3 separate regions of the Homo sapiens genome follow, and regions 2 and 3 are each linked to region 1. The links are contacts of gene promoters, found by promoter capture Hi-C in blood cells and fetal thymus (Javierre and others, 2016). All regions are on one chromosome and are shown on one strand. Each heading gives the region's core, a stretch centred on a gene start or on the middle of the fragment in contact. The rest is flanking DNA. Distances are from core to core; before and after follow the strand shown. Region 1 holds the start of DEFA5 (defensin alpha 5). Region 2 has its middle 280 kb from the start of MCPH1-DT. Region 3 has its middle 300 kb from the start of MCPH1-DT.

Region 1 (2,700 bases), core at 99-2,598:
GAACTGAATCTTGCACTGCTTTGGTTTCTATCTAGGAAGCTCAGCGACAGCAGAGTCTGTAGAGGCGGCCACTGATTTCACACACCCCGGAGAGGGACTCACGGGTAGCACAACGGCCGGTTCGGCAATAGCAGGTGGCTCTTGCCTGAGAACCTGTGGAAAGAAGAGAGGGTCAGGCACAGCGAGGGAGGTGGGAAAAAGGACAAGCACAGCCAGACTAACTGAGATAGTCTAAATAAGAGACACTGTATCAGTCATGTTAGGATGGAGAAAATTCATGTCTTTGTCGTAAGTGACAAGAAATCTTACTAGCTATGTGTTAGTCATGCAAGATCATAGTTTTTTTCCCCATGTGAGTCTATCCAGGATGTATTTATTACCTGCTCCCTGGTCCAACAATATACCTCTCAACCTCAGGGTTACCTACTCTTCATTCTGCTTCATCCACACGCCTAATCTTGACCTCCATGTGTGATTTCCAGGTCCTAACAAGGCTCCCTAAAGCACCTGAATCAGTTTCTGAAATGCCGCATTGTGCATGCTAATGTCATGGACCAAATACTTTGGTGCTCAAGGAGTCTTTGAAGACTTTCCAAATTCAAATTCTTCATTCTCTGTCTCTCCTTTTTTTTTTTTTTTTTTTTTTTTTAACATTTTACATATTTACTTGTTTTAATTGACAAACAATAATTGTGTATATGTATGAGACACAATATGATGTTTTGATCTAAGGATGTATTGTAGAAAGATTTAATCAAGCCTATTAGCCTACATCAAAACACACCTATAGGTTCCTCTCTAGGTTCTAAAAGCTTTTCCAATGGACAAAGTAAAACACTCTCTATATAACTAAGTCTGCCCATTTAGATCTACAAAGAACTAGTCAGTGTAGCTCTTTCTATCTTAAAAGTAGCAAATTTCACAGAAATATCTTGGAACTGAAAGTCTTAGAAAAAAGAAAATCTTTTAGATTTATTTGGTTCTCACTGATTAATTTATAGATGAGAAAATCAAGGTCCAGGAAGATTAAGTAAAGTCACTCAAGTGAGGTAGACCTTTCCACACTTGACTCCAGATCCTTTCTCCAATCCTTTTTTTCTAGATTTTGCAGATGTGCAAGATTGATGTCTCCTACCTGAGGTTCTAAGAGCAGAGAGTCCATTTCCTGCAAAGGAGATAGCAAGGTCCTGGTTGTCTTCCCCAGACTGCTTCTGGGTTGTAGCCTCATCAGCTCTTTCCTGGAGTGACTCAGCCTGGGCCTGCAGGGCCACCAGGAGAATGGCAGCAAGGATGGCGATGGTCCTCATGGCTGGGGTCACCTGCAGGAGGGAGAGCAGGAGTGGATATGTGGGGAGTGAGGAGTCAGCCTGGATTTATAGCTCTGCTGGGAGAAGACCTGAGACAGAAGCTGCAGTGAGAGGAGGTGGGCATGTGATTGGGAGGGGAAGGACTGCCTTTGTTCTCAAGATCCCTTTGATGCTCCTCTTTCTCCCAGCTTTCATCAAAGCGTGAGTCTGTATGCTTAATGCCTCTTCTTGATCCAAGGTGTTAATGATGATAAGGGTATTACTATCCTGTTCTGTTTCCCATCTGCTTGAGTATTTACTTTTATATATTCAAAAAAGAAAAACAACAGCGCTTTCATTCAAGAAGTTTGGGGATCAAATGCCTCTTGTTTTCTGAAGATGGTCCCTGGTACTCTCTGGATGACTCTCTGGGGGCAGACCTGGGACTCAGTGGAGTAGAGAGTTAATTCATTGCAGGATTCAGGGATATTACTAACCTCATGTAGGAGGCTTTTGAGATCTCGAGGTGAGTAGTCTCCCGCTGGTGCCAGTATGGAGAGGTCAATGACCTTATCAGGCTATAGGGGAAATGAGTTCAGTAAAATAGTAGGCCAAGTTTATCAGATTAAAATAAAAATTCGGATTTAGTTCAAGGAGTTGGTGTGATCTGAATGCATCACATAAAATGTGTAGCGGGTACTTCTCTCCACTTTGGGGAATATCAAAGTAATTTAGGTGCGTACAGCCCCTTTCTGAGATTTTTTTTTTAGTTTTAGAAAATTGTAAATCATGCACAAGGAACAACATTCAAAAGGTAGAAGTCATGAGCTCTCATTTCTACCCCCAGGCCTTCAGTTCTGACCCAGCAAACCATCACTATTAACAGTTACACATAGTATTCTGCACTTCGCTTTTTTCACCTGTAACATTGGCACTTTGTATATCAAAATACATGGAATGCTATTATAATTTTAATAGCCTTATACTATCCCAGGGTTTGTATATGCCATCACTTATTTTTTGTACTGATAAAATATTATAAAATTATTACAATTTGGTTATTTTTAAACTTTTGCAGTAATAAGTAAAGTTACAGTGATTATCTTGTATATATGTTCTCTTACCTATATGGATAAACTTATAGAAATAGAATTGCTGTGTCAAAGAATGCATCTTAAGCCAGCATGGTGGTACATGCCTATATTTCTAGCTATTTGAGAGGCTGAGGTGGGAGGATCACTGGAGACCAGGAGTTCGATACCAGCCTAAAAACATAGTGAGACCCCTTTCTCTTAAAAAAAAAAAAAGAGACTATATCTTACACATTTTTAAGATATTACTACATATTTCCATAATATCACCATATTTGATCCAAATCCTTTGGGGCTCAGTGGGCCCTTGGAGAGTCTCTATA
Region 2 (2,700 bases), core at 102-2,601, 930 kb before region 1:
TCTACTCCACAACTAACTGACAGGTACAAAGGAAGACTCATGACATCCCCAACTACAACAGCGAGAGCATGAAAAGCCTTTCCTTGTGCTCACCTTTCTCTTCTCTATCCAAGGTCCTGAAATGGCCAGCCAGCCACTGAGGCATCTTCACTTTTCTCCTGAAACCGTGACCAGTACTCATAACCCCCTAACAATTCACCCTTAAACTCAGCCCTTAGACTAACCCAACAGTCCCCCAGTGTGGTTTGGGAACCCATGGGGAATCCCAAAATTTCAAGCAGTCTGCAAAGACAAACCTATTTTCACAATATTACTAAGATGCCATTTTCCTTTTCACTGTTAATCTCTCACAAATATGCAATGGAGTCTTCCAGAGCCTACCGGACACAGAATGTTAACAAAAGTTTGAATGCAGAAGCGGATATAAAAATCCAGCTGGTTTCCATGAAGCCAGATGTTAAACAGAGTTGCAAAAAATTTAAAACAAGCTACTGTCCTTACCCCACTTGTTTTTGTTTTAGAAAACAGTTATTTCCGTAAAAATGTACTTTTATATTAACATGTAATGGGCTTATTATTTTTAAATGAATAATCTGTTTTATAATTTTTAATTAAATAAGTCTTAATTTTTGCAATAAATTCCAACAGATACGACCCACTTAAACAAAATCTCATTGAGATCCTGAATACATTTTAAGAGTGTAAAGGTGTTCTGAGACCAAAACATTTAAGAAGTGCTGGACTAGAATATATCACAGCCTCACTCTGCTACTTCCTTTGCTCTGCCAACAAATAAGAAGGGCCTGAGCTCATGATGTGGCCACAGGAAATCCAATGTTGTCTGTGTCTAAACACTGAATGGTTGGGAAAGGTCAGAGGCTAGGCTGACTCATGCTCCTTCTATCATTCGGGGTTTGATGGAAGAAACAGAACCACTATGGGGGGATTTTGACTGAGGATTTGTCATAGAGATTGGAGCTCAAGCAACCATAAGAGCTCATTAAACAGCCTGTGTGAGGAGGCTACCTTTTTCTGTCTGGGGCAGGAGCCTAAAGTCATCAGGACAGGCTGGCAGAAAGGAGAAGTGGACATAAAGTTGAGGAGCAAGGACACACTGAGAAATTCAGGACAAGCTGGAGCCCCGGAGAACGACGGGAACCTGCTTGAGCCTTCAACAGAGGAGGCCAGTGGCCTGCCGCAGAAGCTGCTCCTTCCTCGTGGAACTAAAAAAGCACCTGGTACAGGAGGCAAAGGCCCTGGAGGAGGAGATGCTCAGGACCAGAGTGGCTGCTGTCCCATCCCAAGGTGAGCCAGGAGCTGAGCACCATGGGCTTGGGCTGCAACAGAGCTTCATGCCCTTCACAGATCCTTCCATGTAAAAGTATAAGACCCAGACTTCACTTTTACCTCCAAATCTCATGAGAAACCTTTCTTGTGACCCATCCAAACTCGTAATTGTACGGAGAAGAAAACTGTGGAATGTATTGACCAATTCACTCACTACTGCTGATTGACACAGGAGTCCTTCAACTCAGCGTCCAGATGTGCAAGGCTTCAGGAGTGCTCAGTGTTCAACAATCAAGTGAAATTCATCTTGGACTCTTCATCATTTTCTGTTCCTTTTAAAGCATCTGATACCTCCTCTTCCAGCATTTCTCACCATAGCCAATCTAATGCATTTTTTTTTAAAAAAGCTATCCAATGTGAGCACCCCAATATCGCCTATATTATCTCCCAGTTCCACCATTTATCCAACCTCCTTACCTTCCTGTCTGGCATATTTTAGAATCTTAGTAAATATTATTAGCCATGGTGGCAGGCACCTGTAGTCCCACCTACTCAGGAGGCTGAGGCAGGAGAATCAATTGAACACTTTTACCTCCAAATCTCAGGAGTTGGAGGCCACAGTGCACTATGAAGGAACCTATGAAGAGCCACTGCACTCCAGCCTGAGGAGCAAAGAAAGACCCCATCTCTAAATAAATAAATAAATGTATTGATTTAGTCAAATAACCAATCAATGACAGAGTGATTATCCGGATTCTCAGTGGCACCAATCCCTCAACCCAAGTCAGTTCTTCTTCTCACCTTCATTAAATGTTTCAACACCTCTTTTATTTCTTTAAAAATATTAAACATAATCATTTATATTATCTTCAATAAGTGCATTATCTGAAGTCCAATGCGTCTGATTCTGCTGTCTGTTTTTTCTGCTGTCACTTACAGTGGCCTTTTTTTTTTTTTTTTTTTTTTTTTGTGAGACGGAGTCTCACTCTGTCACCAGGCTGGAGTCCAATGGCACGATCTCGGCTCGCTGCAACCTCTGCCTCCCAGATTCAAGTGATTCTCCTGCCTCAGCCTCCTGAGTAGCTGAGACTATAGGTGCGCACTATCACGCCCAGCTAATTTTTGTATTTTTACAAATACAAAAATTTTACCACAGCGTTTCACCATGTTGGCCAAGATGGTCTCAATTTCTTGACCTCGTGATCTGCCTGCCTTGGCCTCCCAAAATGCTGAGATTACAGGTATGAGCCACCATGCCCAACCAGTAGCCTGCATTTTTTTTTTTAAGAAAAATGTTACCATGACCTCATGTGTCTTGCCAATTTATCTTTGGGAATTCATTGAGGCCAGAGTTGGAAATAGGCTCTTCTACAGAGATTTCTGAATTTATTTTTGCCATACACCAGGAGGTAT
Region 3 (2,759 bases), core at 14-2,513, 950 kb before region 1:
TCCCTAAATGTTTTAGTCTTGTTTCTCTTACACCCCTTTGCCTTTATTTCTAAGGCCTTGATCCACATTGAGTTAATATTTGAAAATAAGAAGTCTCACATGCACACGTATATTTATTGCGGCACTATTCACAATAGCAAAGGCTTGGAACAAATCCAAAAGTCCAACAATGATAGAATGGATTAAGAAAATGTGGCACATATACACCATGGAATACTATGCAGCCATAAAAAATGATGAGTTCATGTCCTTTGTAGGGACATGGATGAAATTGGAAATCATTCTCCGTAAACTATCGCAAGGACAAAAAACCAAACACCGCATGTTTTCACTCATAGGTGGGAATTGAACAATGAGAACACATAGACACAGGAAGGGGAACATCACACTCTGGAGACTGTTGTGGGTGGAGGGAGTGGGGAGGGATAGCATTAGGAGATATACCTAATGCTAAATGACGAGTTAATGGGTGCAGCACACCAGCATGGCACATGTATACATATGTAACTAACCTCTGCACATTGTGTACATGTACCCTAAAGCTTAAAGTATAATAATAATAAAAGAAAAGAAAAGAAAAGAAGAAAATAAGAAGTCTCATAAAGGAACTATATTGTACTTACGAAAAAGCTGCTTGTTTTCAGTGCTGTGCTCATAATAACTCTTTCCTCTCAGTAAGCCCTGTCCTTCAGGGCTCATTCATCTCTACCTTTCCACACCCCACTCGCTTTATGTCAACGTTTGAACTCTGCTTCCTCACAGAGCCTGCCAGTGGGCAGGACATGGAATGGGCCCGTGACTCTAGGCCTCCCCACAAGCTGAGTTTTGGGTTCTCAGAGTCTTCCCAGTTCTTAGAGACAAATCTCCCCAAACACTGTTGTTCTGTCTGACTACAAATGTCCCTGCTACAATTTCCGTTTCTATCCTTTGAGCTGACCCCCAGTCCTGACTTGGTCACATTAGACTGCACTACTGCCCTCCCATTCCACCCTCCTGCTTTGGAGGAAAGTTAAGTAGTTCTGCAGCCAGATCACTTTTTTCTTGCATAAATGTAGCCAGTCCTTTTTTCTCCCAACTAGCCACTGCTGATGAGTTCCCATTTTGCCTCAGAGCATAAACCATTACTATTGAGACCTTGGATAGCACTAGGGAAATACTAACCACATTCAGATACCTAGGTTAGCCACACTTGGATTATATTTACCAAACAGCTCCTTTTTTCCCTAGGCATACAGTTGAACAACATTTTCAAACCTCCCTTTTAGTTAGTTGTTGCCACACGCTTGAGTAATAGCCAAAGAAAAATGAATAAAAAGATGTGTACCACTCCTTCAATCCTCACGCTAATTCTTTTCCACATAATGCACACAAGCACGGTGACTTGGAAGCCACATTTGTGAAGATGGCAGGATCACAGACAGAAGGAGCCTGGGTCCCTGGGTCACTGTTTGGAGGAGAGTCACCTTCCCATCGGAACACCTGATGAAAGTTGTATGTGAACAAGAAATGAACTCTGTTGTGCTTGAGTCATGATACCTTTTGGGGTTTTTGTTGTTGTTGTTGTTGTTACAGCATTATTTTGACAAATCTACAACCTCCTAGGGCTATTCTGAGGGTGAAATGAGTGAATGCATGTATCCTGCTTAGAGGGGAGCTTAGTAAATAGCATGCGAACTCCTAGGAAATGTTTGCTATTATTATTACCAAAAGTTAAAGAGATGTGGAGGTTCTCAGTCTAAGCAAATAAATATAGTTGATTAGGCAAGTGTTAAATATGACCTCAATGTATCTCATTTGTATGTTTTTTTTAGATAATCAAGTTTCCCATTAAGAAAGCCACAGATGAAGGGCATCAAGTATCATTCATTCAACAATCAGCCAAATTGGACTGAGCACAAACTCTACACCAAACCTTAGGATTCATCTATAAAACAGCTTTGCTACTTGAAGTGTGGTTCTCAGACAAGCAGCATCAGCATCACCTGGAAGCTTATTAAAAACTACAGACTCTCAGACCCCCTCCTAGACCCACAGACTCAGAAGACGCATTTTGACAAGTTCCCTAGGTAGCTCATATGCACGCTGAAGCTTCAGAAGCTTTCTAAAAACGGATACCGTCCCAGACATCAGAGTACTGTCCATCCGTGAAAAGGAAGACGAGAAAGTAATTAACCCTGGCAGGGAAAATCAGGAAAGACTTTACAGCTGAAAAGTTTTGTTTTTTAATTTGGATCTTGAAGGATAAATCAAAGTTTACCAGATGGAAAAATAAATGCAGGCAACTTTGATAAAGAAGCTAGAGTGTAAAATGACACAGCCATGAAGGACTGTGATCTTTTCCTGTGGGGTTGCAAAGACAGTCTGTGGGCTGACTGTGAGGGCAGAACCAGAAAACATCTTCAAATTTACGTACACAAGGAGCTTGGATCCAGACCCCAAATTCGGAACACTTTGCAACCTGCTCTCCTGCACACCAGACACTAAGCTTGGAACAGGAGCCTTATCCTGTTCATAAAATTGAACGGGCGGCCTCCAACGATAGGTGTCACCATTTTCATGGGGCTTATGGTAAATACCACTGAAGATATCCAACCCTAAGCCCTGTATCAAGAGCCTCTGAGTACCCTGGAGGAGGAGGAGAGACTGCTCACTCGCCTAATACCCTGGGTTCCCTTAAAATCATGGGAAAGTTCACCTCAGCTGGGGCAGGGGTGGTGCAAAGCAGGATGATGCTGAGCTTACCGGGTAAGGCAGCAACT

The links. Contacts are between HindIII fragments. The CHiCAGO score rates a contact against its expected background, and 5 or more counts as called.
Region 2: a fragment that was not itself captured here is called in contact with the fragment with the promoter of DEFA5 in region 1 in 1 of 17 cell types (fetal thymus); the score reaches 7.3 in fetal thymus.
Region 3: a contact is called between a fragment that was not itself captured here and the fragment with the promoter of DEFA5 in region 1, in 1 of 17 cell types (fetal thymus). The highest score is 8.7, in fetal thymus.

The regions. Positions count from the first base shown.
Region 1 is chr8:7,055,391-7,058,090 of GRCh38, forward strand. DEFA5 (defensin alpha 5) reads right to left here and starts at 1,349. Exons shown (of 2, transcript NM_021010.3): 1 at 1,136-1,349; 2 at 1-153. The coding sequence starts at 1,307. The coding sequence ends at 41. The HindIII fragment of the contact is 6,427 bases long and covers 811-2,700 here.
Region 2 is chr8:6,124,584-6,127,283 of GRCh38, forward strand. No RefSeq gene overlaps it. Among named protein-coding and RNA genes, the nearest start is that of MCPH1-DT, 280 kb to the right of the region's middle. The HindIII fragment of the contact is 4,497 bases long and covers 1-2,700 here.
Region 3 is chr8:6,106,817-6,109,575 of GRCh38, forward strand. No RefSeq gene overlaps it. Among named protein-coding and RNA genes, the nearest start is that of MCPH1-DT, 300 kb to the right of the region's middle. The HindIII fragment of the contact is 1,447 bases long and covers 541-1,987 here.